2 separate regions of the Homo sapiens genome follow, and region 1 is linked to region 2. The links are contacts of gene promoters, found by promoter capture Hi-C in human tissues and cell types (Jung and others, 2019). All regions are on one chromosome and are shown on one strand. The core of a region is centred on a gene start or on the middle of the fragment in contact, and the rest is flanking DNA. Distances in the headings are between cores, read along the strand shown. Region 1 overlaps CRLF3 (cytokine receptor like factor 3). Region 2 holds the start of CPD (carboxypeptidase D).

Region 1 (6,821 bases), core at 4,315-6,814, 410 kb before region 2:
TGCTGAGAGAAGTCATTTTCTGTTTTTTACCTAACATAAAGCTTTTCTCCCTAGGTGGATGATGACTTTACAGCCCAAGATTACAGGCTCCAGTTTCGTAAATGTACTTCAAATCATTTTGAGGATGTATATGTAGGTTCTGAAACTGAATTCATAGTATTGCACATAGACCCCAACGTTGATTACCAGTTCAGAGTCTGCGCCCGAGGAGATGGCCGACAGGAGTGGAGTCCTTGGAGTGTCCCCCAGATAGGTCATTCCACATTGGTGCCTCATGGTATGCTGCTAACCTTTTCTCTCCTGAAGCCTAACTATATATTAGAATACCTGTATTCTGTGCTAAGGGCAGCACACTGACAACCAGCTATTCTAAGCATAGATCCTGAATTGATAAGAACAACATGCACCATGTCTTTTACTCAGATTACCTCATGTGATTTTTGTTTTCATCAGTTCTTCAGAGTCCAAAAAAAATGCTGGACAAGATTTTTAGCCTCATTGAAAACCAAAGATTGAAAATATTATGTAGGGCACTGATATTCCTTTTTATTCTTTTTTTTATATTTGAATGTTATTTAGTTAGTTTTTTTGAGACAAGGTCTCACTCTGTCGCCCAGGCTGGTGTGTGGTGGTGCAATCATGCAGCCTGACCTCTAGATCCTTCTGCCTCAGTCTCCCAAGTAGCTGGGACCACCTGCATGCACACCACACCTGGCTAATTTTTTATTTTTTTCTAGAGACTGGGTCTTGCTATGTTGCCCAGGCTGGTCTCAAATTCCTGGGCTCAAGCAATCCTCTTGCCTCGGCCTCCCAAAGTGCTGGGATTACAGGCGTGAGCCACCGCGCCTGGCCTATTAATTAGATTTTTATCAGGTTGGAATAAGTTCAAGCAATTATGCTTGTACAATGATTTTATTAGATAAGAGATAACACTTGTGTGATTTATTATGTCAAAATTATGCAGGAATATACTAAAATCTTTTGTAATTTGTGGGACTGATCATGATACCCTGTTAATGGAATCTTTTATTTTATTGAACTTGACCATGGCCCCTAAGAGTAGTCTCCCATTTCCATGTTTTATTTAACGTGTCTGTATTGAAGATATCCCTCAAGAGATTCTAACAGTTTTCAATATCTTTGCTTTGAAAAAGAGTGGACAGCTGGTTTTGAGGGGTACAGTCTGAGCAGTCGAAGAAATATAGCACTTCGGAACGATTCTGAATCATCGGGTGTTCTCTACTCCAGAGCTCCGACTTATTTCTGTGGGCAGACATTAACATTCAGGCAAGTAGATATTAAAACATCTCACCTGCCTCAGGAAGCAGAGTGAAGTGCATAGAGCATACATAAGCTTTGAATTCAAAACATCCTGAGTTTATTCCGTCATTTATAGGCAGTGTTACTGTGGGAAGGCTTCTTTATTTCCTGTAGCTGTAGTTTTCTCATCTGTATTCACAGGGTTATTACGTAGATTAACTGGGAAATGTATATAAAATGCTTGTTATTTAATATGTTTATATCTCTTTTCCTCTTGGTAAGTAGAGGTAAGTAGAGTATCTCTCAAAAGTCAATCTTAGGCTGGGCATAGTGGTTCACACCTGTAACCCCAGCACTTTGGTAGGCCGAGGCAGGTGGATCACCTGAGGTCGGGAGTTCGAGACCAACCTGAGCAACATGGAGAAACCCCATCTCTACTAAAAATACAAAATCAGCCGGGCATGGTGGCACATATGCCTGCAATCCCAGCTACTTGGGAGGCTGAGGCAGGAGAATTGCTTGAACCCAAGAGGCAGAGGTTGCAGTGAGCTGAGATCATGCCATTGCACTCCAGCCTGGGCAACAAGAGCGAAACTGTGTCTCAAACACACACACAAAATTAAAAAGTAAATCTTAAAAATTTAGAGGCCTGGCCAGGCACGGTGGCTCACACTTGTAATCCCAGCACTTTGGGAGGCTGAGGCGGGCGGATCACGAGGTCAGGAGATTGAGAACATCCTGGCTAACATGGTGAAACCCCATCTCTACTATAAATAAAAAAATTAGCCGGACATGGTGGTGGGTGTCTGTGGTCCCAGCTACTCGGGAGGCTGAGGCAGGAGAATGGCGTGAACCCGGGAGGCGGAGCTTGCAGTGAGCCGAGATCACGCCACTGCACTCCAGCCTGGGCGACACAGCAAGACTCCGTTTCAAAAAAAAAAAAAATTTTAGAGGCCAAGAGACTGGACGCAGTGGCTCACACTTGTAATCCCAGCACTTTGGGAGGCCGAGGCGGTTGGATCACTTGTGGTCAGGAGTTCGAGACCAGCCTGGTCAACCTGGTAAAACCCCATCTTTACTAAAAATACAAATATTAGGACAGGCGCAATGGCTCCCGCCTGTAATCCCAGCACTTCGGGAGGCTGAGGTGGGTGGATCACAAGGTTAGGAGATCAAGACACCACCCTGGCCAACATGGTGAAACCCCATCTTTACTAAAAATACAAAAATTAGCTGGATGTGGTAGTGCACACCTGTAATCCCAGCAACTAGGGAGAGTGAGGCAGGAGAATCACTTGAACCCGGGAGGCAAATGTTGCAGTGAGCCATTGCACTTCAGCCTGGCAACAGGGCAAGACCCGTCTCAAAAAGAAAAAAAAAATTAGCAGGGTGTGGTGGCACACACCTATAATCCCAGCCACTCAGGAGGCTGAGGCATGAGAATTGCTTGAGCCTGGGAGGCAGAGGTTACAGTGAGCTGAGATCGCGCCACTGTACTCCAGCCTGGGTGACTGAGCGAGACTCCGTCTCAAAAAAAAGAAAAAAAGCATAGGCCGGGCACTGTGGCTCATGCATATTATCCCAGCACTTTGGGAGGCCGAGGTGGGCAGATCACGAGGTCAGGAGATCGAGACCATCCTGGCCAACATAGTGAAACCTCGTCTCTACTAAAAATACTAAAAATTAGCTGGGTGTGGTGAGGTGCGCCTGTAGTCCCAGCTACTCGGGAGGCTGAAGCAGGAGAATCACTGGAAGCCTGGAGGCGGAGGTTGCAGTGAGCAGAGATCGTGCCACTGCACTCCAGCCTGGGAGACAGTGCAAGATTCCGTCTGGAAAAAAAAAAAAAAAAAAAAAAAAAAAGCAAAAAAATTTACTGGCCAAGAATTTGTTTTGTCCTTTGTGAATCATTAACAGCAAGTCTTTGTAAGAGACAACACTGTAAACATATTATGTATATGCTACTCTCTAAAGTAAAACTGAAAGCAAGCCTCCCCTACCACTAATTAATGTTGTTTCTCTACCCATTTCTTTCTGTAATGGAAAAGTTTCTTTTTTCTTGTTTTCATGTTATCTGAGATGTATTCTTTATAGTCATGTTTCTGAATAGCTCTTCGTAGAAACTAAAGACCAGTTTTGACTTAGAGAAGTAAAGTTTGCCTGATTTTCACCATACTCACCTTAGTGTAACAAGCTCTCCTCTAAGTTTTAAGTCTTGAGATGGGATTTTATTGTGAATGCTTGACCCAAGTTCCTTTTGTTCTCAGGCCCTTATTATTTAAGGCATGGAGAATATCTGAATATTTTATCTAAGCCAGTGTTGCTGTATTCCTCTCCAGCTAAGTAATTTGAATTGTCAGCGGTTGTCAGATTATACTAGTTTGTTTTGTCTAATTTTTGACACCTCACCCCTTAATGAAGAATGACTCAGTAAACAGAAAAATACCAACAAAGAGAGAGAGAGGAAAAAAAAAAACAACTAATACCTAAAATCTATTTAACTATTCCCCAGGTAATCATGAGTTTTCTGTACTTACATACCCCTTCTCTGCTTATGTCCCTTGTTTACAGAAGCACTTCGGTTAGTGACTCTCCTGAGAACAAGGTATTTCTGTGCAATGACAGAGCTTCCTAACTTGATAAATTCAGGCCAGATATCTCAGACTGCAATAATGATGATAATAATAATAATTGCAGTTAATATTTAAACAGTATTTACTATGTGCCATGTACTGTCTTAAGTATTTTACTTGTATTAACTCATTTGATTTTCATGGTAACCCAGTGAGATAGATGGGTTATTTATTTTAGGGATGAGGAAACTGAGGCATAGAGAAGTTATTTACCCAGTGTCACACAGCTAGTAAATGCCAAAACTAGGGTTTAAATCCAGGCAGTTCGACTCCAGACTGGTCTGTATTGCTTCTTTTTCATGGGAGAGTTAACATGATTCTAGTTAGTGTTGAAGTCTACAGTTTCTCTATTACTGTGTCCTTAGCTCTTTAACTTTTACCTCTTATGACCTTTCACCACTTGATCTGATGCTCTCCTGCTTTTTAAATTCTTCCTCCTTGGACACATGGTAATGTCTGATAGATTGCATAGTTAGGTTTATTTCTTAGACCATTCAGTAAATATTTATTAAGACATTGGAAATTATACAAATTGATTTAAATTCACCTCTGCTGACCGTGATGTGAAAGACACATTAGGTCTCAATAAACTGTTGAGTCTCTCTTGCATCTCCTAAAGATGCATCACCAGGCCCCACTTGGCAGGGTGATTAACTGAAATTCAGTTAAACTCAATATAATGGTAGCCAGCCTTTTGCATTTTTGTCATTTTTTTCTTTGTGGAATGAAATGTTTTCTCCCCTTGTTTAAAGGAATTTCAGGCATCAGCAGTGAAGCCAGAGATGTGAATGCAAGGGGGACTCCATGCATAAGGGCATAAGGGAGGAGCAAGTGCGCCTACTTGAATCAAGAGAAACAATATTTAGTTTTTTGAGGGTACTTAAGGGCCTAGTAGTTAGAAGGGAGACTATACTCTTGAAGGCACTACGTTAGCCGGGCACGGTGGCTCACGCCTGTAATCCCAGCACTTTGGGAGGCTGAGGTGGGCAGATCACGAGGTCAGGAGTTCGAGACCAGCCTGGCCAATATGGTGAAACCCCATCTCTACTATAAATACAAAAATTAGCCGGGCGTGGTGGTGTGTGCCTGTAATCCCAGCTACTCAGGAGGCTGAGGCAGGAGAATCGCTTGAACCCAGGAGGCGGAGGTTGCAGTGAGCCGAGATCACGCCACTGTACTCTAGCCGGGGCAACAGAGTGAGATGCTGTCTCAAAAAAAAAAAAAAAAAAAAAAAAAAGAAGGCACTACTTTGTTATTTATCCCAGTCAGTCCCTGCTGAAGCTTCTGGAAGGCTTGGAGCTGCTGAAGCCAGAGAAACCTGTGATACTGGCTGGATTTTAACAGTCTCTAGACCCACTCTCATTAGATGCCCAGGTCTGCTAGCAACCCCCTCCTTCCAGGTCTCCCTCACTTCCTATGTGAACATTCCTGCTCTTTCCTTGCTTCTAAGATTTTCTGATTTTTTTTAAGGTTTCCTTCTTTCTTTTCTTTTCTTTTCTTTTTTTTTTTTTGAGACAAAGTCTCATTCTGTTGCCCAGGCTGGAATGCAATGGCACAATCGGCTCACTGCAACCTCCACCTCTCAGGTTCAAGCGACCCTCTCACCTCAGCCTCCTGAGTAGCTGGGACTACAGGCGCCTGCTACCACGCCCGGCTAATTTATTGTATTTTTAGTAGAGACGGGGTTTCACCGTGTTAGCCAGGATGGTCTCAATCTCCTGACTTTGTGATCCGCCCACCTCGGCCTCCCAAAGTGCTGGGATTACAGGCGTGAGCCACTGCACCCGGCCTATTTTCTTTCTCATTCCCCTCCCCAGCTCTCCCCCTCTTTTTGTTTAAGACAAGGTCTCGCTCTGTCGCCCAGGTTGAAGTGCAGTGGCATGATCTCAGCTCACTGCAATCGCCATCTCACAGGTTCAAGTGACCCTCTCACCTCAGCCTCCTGAGTAGCTAGGATTACAGGAGCCACTACCACACCCAGCTAATTTTTGTATTTTTTGTAGATACGGGGTTTCACCATGTTGCCTAGGGTGGTCTTGGAACTCCTGACCTCAGGTGATCCACCCTCCTTGGCCTCCCAAAGTGCTGGGATTACAGGTGTGAGCCACTATGCCCGGCCCCTCCTCCCCATACTTCTTTAGACTGCTCAGATATGAAATAACTTCAGAAACCTACCCAAATATTATGATCCTGCATGTTTGCTATTTCACAATCAATGACATTTTGAGGCCACATTGACTATAAATAATCACATCTGTCTTTGGAAAAGCCACATTTTGTTTCACACTAATTTTTTTTTTTGTCCTTGCAAAGTTGGCTTTCTGGATGGAGAGAATGATGTGTCTGGCAATAGGGATCTGTACATTTCCTATTTCAAGAGCACACAAAGTACTGACATCTGAAATGAAAACACAAAAGGAAAAGCTTAAACTTGCCACATAGGAAGTTCTTCATGCTTGAATAGTGTCTTCATAACCATAATGGGATTTTTTAGGATTATAATAGTTCTTTTTAAATGCTTTATTTACTTAACAAATAGTAATCAAATCATTGCAAATTCTTATATGGAAGATTTAGGCGCTGGCAGCAATAGTTACATAAATTATAATGTCAACTATGACAAACCTTCTATGTGTCTAGAGCTAGAATATAAAATAGAAGTGTGCCATCATGGCTACAAATGGTTAAGAATATAGATTCTAGGCCGGGCACGGTGGCTCACTCCGTAATCCCAGCACTTTGGGAGGCCAAGGAGGGTGGATCACCTGAGGTCAGGAGTTCCAAGACCAGCCTGAGCAACATGGTGAAACCGTGTCTCTACTACAAATACAAAATTAGGCCAGGTGTGGTGGCTCACGCCTCTAATCCCAGCACTTTGGGAAGCCGAGGCAGGCGGATCACCTGAGGTCAGGAGTTCGAGACCAGCCTGAC
Region 2 (7,491 bases), core at 446-2,945:
CTCTTGTTTTATACTAATTTCTTGAGGTCCTCCTTCTTCTACTTTGTAATTTTTTAAACCTCATGCAATGCTTAATAACACTTAAAGTGTGTATTAGAAGTGTGACCATTAGCCATTCTGCCCAGGCTAATAAGGTGCACAAATGACATCACAAACCCTTCAGAGTCTAAAATGAAGCGGCTCACAGATCTGTGCAAGTTCTCCAGCTAAGTCCATATCTTCTTAAGCTGAGTCAGAGGTAAAAATTGGAGAAAAATCAGCTTCTGTCAAATAGGCAAGGGGAAGATCCTGGGAATATCATCTGCCATTTTTGGGCTCCAGTGTCCCTCCGTGGCTAAGAGGACTATCGGGAATCAGATTGCCTAATTCTAAGTCCCAGCCACACTCCTATGTAAATCAGTTAACCAATCTGACCCTCAATTTCCCCGTATGCAAAACTGATGGTGTCTATGACATCAGGTTGTGGCCAAAATAAAGTGAGATACTGCAGTCACAGAAAAAATTAGCACAGCGCCTATAACATTAGGCACTTTTGATATAAGATAACAACATTGACAGCTTATCTATAAAATGTGTGAGCTGACCTAGGTTATCCTTAAGATCTCTTCTCGCTCATATTCTATGCCCCTGTAAGAATAGGGACCAGAAATGTCAGAAAGGAGTGTCCCCTCCAGCCATCCCTTGAACAAATGACAGCCTCTAGGAGGCAATTCTTTGATGATTAGCAGGACGGGAGGCTACGCGGCCTGGGCCCTGTCCCCGTTACAGGGTGTCTCCCTTCACCTTCACCACCGCCACCCCTTATGCCAGCATTGTCTGAGCGCCTACTGGGTGCCGGAACCAGCCTCGGCCCTTGGAGGCTCACACGGACGGGGAGGGGGCAGGCAACACTCACTTGTTCCTGCGGATCCACTCGATGAGGGCGCGCACCTCGGGCACCTCGTCCAGGGCGGGGGGTTCGCCGGTGCTAAACTGGTCGGGAAAGCTTCGGTTGAGGTCGCGGCCGCGACTATTGTCGCGGCCGCTGGCCCCGGACGGGCCGCCGTCGCCGAAGCCACAGTCGCCCTCGCGGGCACGCTCGAAGCCATCGGGGTTGAGGCTGGGCAGCAGGTACACGTCGGTGGTGTTGAGCAGGCGGACCAGGCGCGGGTCCCCGCGGCGGTAGCCGGCCGCCAGCTCGCGGGCCAAGTAGATCAACACCTGGCGCGACACGGTCTCGTCGCCATGCATGTTGCCCACCAGCTTCACCTGGGGCCGGCCGGGCAGCAGCGGCCCCGCAGCGTCGGGCCCGGCAGCGTCAGGCCCCGCGTCGCCCTCAGGGATTAGCGACCCCAGGCCGGCGGTGAGGCGAAGCACCCACAGCGGCCGGCCTTCCACCGAGCGGCCGATGCTAAAGAGGCGGGCCAGGCCGGGGAGGCCCGCGGCCGCCGCCTCCCTCAGCGCCGACTCCAACTCCTCTTCGTGGTAGTAGCGGTCGAACTGGCCCTCGGCCGCCTCGGCGCCCGCGCTCGTAGTTGTGGTAGTCGCCTCCGCCTTCTTGATGTGAGCCGCCCGGGCCGAGCTCCCCAGCAGCAGCAGGCACATGAGCAACAGGAGCCGCCCTAGCCGCCAAGGCGGCCGCTCGTCCCGGCCGCTCGCCATCTTCCAGCAGCGCCGCTAACCCCGGCTCCGCTCCCGCGGCTCAGCGCTCCGGGCGGCGGGGGCCCGCCGGATCCCCTCCTCGCCTAGCAACCCCATCCCGCCCTCTGGCCGCAGCCAATCGCGGACGGGCCTGGTGGAGCGTCACCACCAGGGGGCGGGGCTTCCCTTAAAGCAGCCGATTCCCTCTGGGCGGGCCTGCCCTCCTCCCGTCCGGGACGAGTTTGGTCACTCTCTTCCTTCGCCAAGGTTCTTCTTCTCTTCTCCTCCTCCTTGTTTCGTCTTCTGCGTGTGCTCCGCTTCTCGCTTAGTCTCTTCTTTATGGCTTCTCCCCTAAATTATCACCCATTTTTCTCTGAGAACTCCTGCTAGTTCTCTTCCCATCTTTGTTGCTGCCTTTCTCAGCTGCGCTTTAATGCTTAGAACCGAGAATGGAAAGAATCAAAAGGTTCGAAAGAATCATAAGACTAGAAAAAATCAATAGGTTCGAAAGAATCTTCGTTCGGACACTCAAAGCCTTAGCCCAGTCTCCTAGGCGCCTTGTCTCCGCATCCACCCCGCCTCCGCTGGAGCCCCGCTGTCCGCGTGCGGTTGCACGGGACGCCTCGTGGGGAGGAAGGCTCGCACCTCACTAGGCGGTGCATTCATTTTTAGAGTTGCTTTCTGGAAAGGTGTCTCTTTTATGCCTAGCGGAAATGTGCTACGTAGTAGGCTCCCTTTGTGTTAATGTTGTCTATTTCTTAGGCGTCACCCCACGTTGTTTTACTGCAAATAGGTCCCTGTGTGTGCTGGCCTCGACCCTCATTAGGCAGATTTCATTTCACAGCTCACCGGCCCACTTCTCCCACCTCATCGGAGCAAGTTGTATATTTAACTGTGCCCTGGAATGACATATTTTAAAACAGCAGGTTTGACATTTCTGGAAACACTTGCTTGGCATTCCTGAACTCCTCAGTGTCAGCCAAAGATGGCAATTACAGCGTTTCATCAAGTCTAGAGAAGAGGTCTTTTAAATCACCTTTTATAGGCTTTAGTTTCTTTAGCTTGAAGAAACCCAAAACTATCCCTTAATCGAATGCGAAATTCTACCCATCTAACAACATAATCGCAATAACCGGCATTACCTTCTTTCAGAGCCAGCTATTTCAGGGCCCCTTCCCTGAACTATGACTGAACCCTACTTTAATAGAGTTCATTCATTCGTCAAGTATTTATTGAGCAACTTTTATGTCAAAGCTAGATGCTGGGAAACAATTCATTCTTCTGCCCAGTCAAGAGATTCAGTGTAGTTTGTGATAAATGCTACAACAGAGGGGGTACAGGTGAGGGAAATATCTGAACTTGAGGAGGAGGAAAGGAGGAGAGAAACCATGGAGGATGGGAAGGATCCCAGGCAGGAGGAGAAGCAAGCAAAGAAAGCCGCAGGATTTGAGAACAAATGCCTTGTGTTCTGGGAATTGCATGCAGGGTCAGGATTACTGGTGTGAAGGGGCTCACAGGCCAGTCTTCAGGGAGCACATTTGATCTGGAAGGCCATGGAGAACCACAGACGGGTTTTAAGCTAGTTTAGAAAAATTCCTCTGACAGTAACACGGAAAATTGAATGGGAGGCCTAAGACTTGAGGCTGAGAGACCTGGAAGGAAGCTGCAATCCAGGAAGACATGATGAGACTCTGAATGAGGGCAGTGCCAGTGGAGGTGGAAAGAAGGAAATGGATCTGAAAGACCTTCGGAAAGGAAAGTGGACAGGATCTGGAGACAAAGAGGATTGTAGGCTGACTTCAAGTTACAGCCTAAGCAACTTGCAGGTATTCACTGAGGTACAGGCCAGGAGAAAGCACAGGTTTAGGTGAAGATGATTAATTTAGTATTCTGCCATCAGAGCGAGCACCGTCACTCCGGTCCTGTGAATGGCTCTTCTCCATGCCCCATTTGATCTAGTCTACATTATGCACAGCAGCTGCAACTCATCAGAAACAAAGCCACAACTCTGTACAGAGAGACCGCCCACCACCTCCCGGGAGTGCTCAACTATTACACCATGCACTTTTACAGTAATCCAAGTCAAAGAAGCCCCAGAGGACATGTTAACTTCTAATCAAATATTTCCTTTTCTACCACGTTCACTCTCCTTTGAAACCTCTTCCAGCCCCTTCACTCCTGCAGCCTCGCCTAGAGAGGCAGCCTGAAATGTAAATAAACAAGCATGAGGGTGGTGAAATAATATGGGAATGTAACTTGAGCCGGTGTCCTCTCAGAAATCCCCAGGCCTTCCGTGGGCCTCTTTCAGGTCTGCAGCCTTCTTCCTTAGCAGGTACACAGTTGCTTATGGTTATAAGTGAAACCCAAAGCTCTGGACCTCAGTCACTTTTGTGTTTACCTACAGGTTTGTGTTTACCTACAGCTGAATACCTCCAATTGTGTCTGAGAAGTCTTGAACCTTATGACAGGTGTTTCTTTCCTCTTTCCCCAAGGAAAAGGTGTGGCCTTACAAATGGAAGGGACTTGGGAAAGGCTTGAAGGTAAAAAGGCTTCCTGTTCACAGAAGCAGAGTGGCAATGACTTGGATTTTTTTTTTTAATTTTTGTATTTGATACATGATAATTGTACATATTTATGGGATACATTTGATATTTTGATACATGCATACAATATATTATGATCAAACCAGGACATTCTGGATAGCCATCACCTCATTTAGCTCAAAGAGATTTGAAATGTTTCTAGCACCAAGAAATGACAAAGAATTGACGTGGATTTTTTAAAAACAGGGCAAAAGCTTTTAGATGACCAGCCTGATTCAAGAACCATTTTCTTCACAAGATTCGTAGGTAATTAAAGCATAGCATAGACCGGGAACTTGTAAGTGTCTCATTGTCCAGCACAAACACCTGCAGATTTACAAATTCAATTTGACAAATGTTTGTGGAGCACCCAATCTGGCGAAAGGTCTGTTGTGCCAGGTACAGGAGGATTGGAAAATGAATGAAGGGGATCTCTCCCCTCCCAGAGGACAGAATCTAGGAAGGGACACAGAACATAGACACAACACAGGACTGGATGTGTCTGCTGGACAAGAGTTACATAACAGGCACTGTGCAAAACCCTTTACATTGGTTGACTCATTTCATCTTCACAACAGTCCTATGAGGCTGGTGCTATTATCATTCCCATTTCAAAGATAAAGAGAGGAGACATGAGGTCACACAGCTGGCAAGCCACAGATCCAAGACTCAAACCTGGGGAGTGTGACTTCAGAGTCTGTGTGCTTAAATTCTGTAATAAAACTGTTTCTATATAGTAAGCTTAAAAAAACAAAAAACAAAAACCTGTTTTTGGAACACACAAAAGCCATTATAATGAAGAGTCACCTCCCTCGGTGGCTCAAGCCTGTAATCCCAGCACTTTGGGAGGCCGAGGCGGGCAGGTCACCTGAGGTCAGGAGTTCAAGACCAGCCCGGTCAACATGGTGAAACCCCGTCTCTACTAAAAATACAAAATAAATAAATAAAAGAAATTAAAAATAAAAATAATGAAGAGTCAGAGAAAACGTCACCAATACTGCTTGATCATGCTCTTCAACAGCAGAACCAAGTTCAAATCCTGGATCAGTCCCTTTTCAGCCATTGTAACCAGGGCAAGTTACTTCATTTCTCTGAAAATTAAAAGAAATAATACATACATAACATTTAATATAATACTTGGCATATAACAAGCGTTCAGAAATCACCGTTATTTCTATTGTTTTTAATAATAGAAATTCTCAAATGGTAAAAATGGAGAAAAGAGCACTCCAGGCAGAGAGACCAGCAAGGATAGATGCACAGAGAGGGATTTCGTGACTGGTGGCTGGAATACAAGATGTGTTAGGAAGAGCAGCAGAAGCCATGCCTGCAAAGACTAGAAGTAGATGAAGGCTTTGAATACCACACTAATGGGGTTTTGCTTTATTCCAAAGCAAATGGAAAACTTACAGAGCTGTTTGTGAGGAGGAATGGTGTGGATCGCACCTGTGTTTTAGCAAGAAAATTCCAGGAACCATTTGGGCAAGGCTAAGGGATAGCTGCTATCCAGGCAAGAGCTAATTCTGGCAAGTTCAGTGAGGATAAAAAGAAGATAAATTAGAGATGTTTAGGTTGTTGGATTGACAAGATTTAGCAACTTTATGGGTAAAAGGGAAGAAGAAGTAAAAGATGACTTCATGAGCTAGTGAGGGTGACCAGGTAGGTGGCTTTGCCATTATCCAAGACAAAGAAGGCAGGAGAAAAGATGCTAAATGGAGGGGCTTGGAGTGTGTGGGAAAAGAGATTAGGTGTTGATTTTGGGAACTTTTAGGTTTGAGATGCCTGTATGAAATCCAGCGGCAGGTATGTCTAGATAATGGGAACAGTTTTGTTGTTGTCGTGTTTGTTGGTGTTTAAGACGAGGTCTCACTCTGTTGCCCAGGCTGGAGTGCAGTGGCACAATCACAGCTCACTGCAGCCTCGACCTCTCAGGCTCAAGCGATCCTCTTGCCTCAGCCTCCCAAGTAGTTGGGACTACAGGGACATGCTACCACACCTGGCTAATTTTTGTATTTTTTGTAGAGACAGGTGTAAGGTACATGGATGTGCTTTGGTCAAGGAATAGGCCAAGGCGGATATCCAGGCCTGCATGACTTGGAGAGTTTGGCTCGCAAGGGCACCCCTCCACTTGCTATGTAACCTGTTTGTGTAAGTTCATACATGGCCCTGAGCCACTGTTGTCTGTAAAAGATATAACTGCCCTGTTGACACTGTGCATGACAGACATGGCTCTTGGGGCTCGGCTCGGCTCAACATGGCTTAACATGGTGGGCACACTGGTGCCCAGAGAAAGAGAGAGAGAACCAGAGCTGTCCATCCTGCAGACAGACAGATGGGAGCCACAGCATGGCTCGCGCCGGAGCCCAGAGAGAGAAGAAGTTAAGCTGCTGACCCTGAAGGCAAGGGAGAGCCAGCCATGCAACTGCATTGTGAGGGTGGCAGGAGCCGCAGAGCCAGAGCAGACAGCCGAGATAAAGGTGGACAGTATGAGAAAGCTGTTGATGAGAGGTGCTGCTGAATAAAATCATCTTTCACCTGCCTACAGCCCCCCAAGTGTTCTTTCTGCCCATCCACCCACTGCCCTTGGATTCCGCATAGGCTGGACCCAGACCCCAGGATCTGACAACAGGGTTTTGCTGTGTTGCCCAGGCTGGTCTCAAACTCCTGGGATCAAGCAATCTGCCTGCTTCAGCCTCCCAAAGTGCTGGGAATACAGGTGCAAGCCACCGCTCCAGGTCTTTGTTTTTTAAACATGGGAGAAATTATAGGTTGTTTGTATACTGATAGGAATGATCTAGTAAAGAGGGAAAATGTGATGACCCATTAGAGAGAAGGGAGAATTGCTGGAGCCATGGCTTTGAGTATGAGTAGTTGGGAAGGGATAGTGTATCTAATATACCAGTGGAGGGATGGGTCTTAGGTCGAAATACAGACACTTCAGTAGTCACAAATGGGAAGGCAGAATATATGGGCATAGGTACAATTAAGTGGGTAGGTGAGGTATTGGGAGAAGGTTCTCTGCTGATTGCTTTTATTTTCTTAATGAAATGGAAAGCAAGGCCACTAGCTGAGTGTAAGGATGTTGGAGTAGGTGTTGGAGGTTTGAGAAAAGAGAGGAAGGTGTGAAATAATCATCTCAAAGAGTGGGAGAGAGAAATGGAGGGTAAGAACAGTTTCCAGCCATTGACACTTAATAGAGCCCAGCAGTTTTCTAACATGTCATCTAGACCTGAAAGCTAATGGGACATAGAACAGAAGGTTTTTGGCTTTGTTTAGTTCATTTATTTGT

The links. Contacts are between HindIII fragments. The study calls those that stand out against the background at their distance.
Region 1: a contact is called between a fragment that was not itself captured here and the fragment with the promoter of CPD in region 2, in 1 of the 25 tissues and cell types used here (dorsolateral prefrontal cortex).

What each region holds. Positions count from the first base shown.
Region 1 is chr17:30,786,906-30,793,726 of GRCh38, reverse strand. It overlaps CRLF3 (cytokine receptor like factor 3), which reads left to right. Exons shown (of 8, transcript NM_015986.4): 5 at 55-277; 6 at 1,155-1,287. It also overlaps the pseudogene SUZ12P1. Among named protein-coding and RNA genes, the nearest start is that of CRLF3, 34 kb to the left of the region's middle. The HindIII fragment of the contact is 4,601 bases long and covers 3,264-6,821 here.
Region 2 is chr17:30,373,131-30,380,621 of GRCh38, reverse strand. It overlaps CPD (carboxypeptidase D), which reads right to left and starts at 1,695. Exons shown (of 21, transcript NM_001304.5): 1 at 896-1,695. The coding sequence starts at 1,641. RefSeq lists silencers at 1,220-1,349, 1,650-1,889 and enhancers at 867-1,794, 1,940-2,109, 3,380-3,429, 3,680-3,969. The HindIII fragment of the contact is 4,583 bases long and covers 98-4,680 here.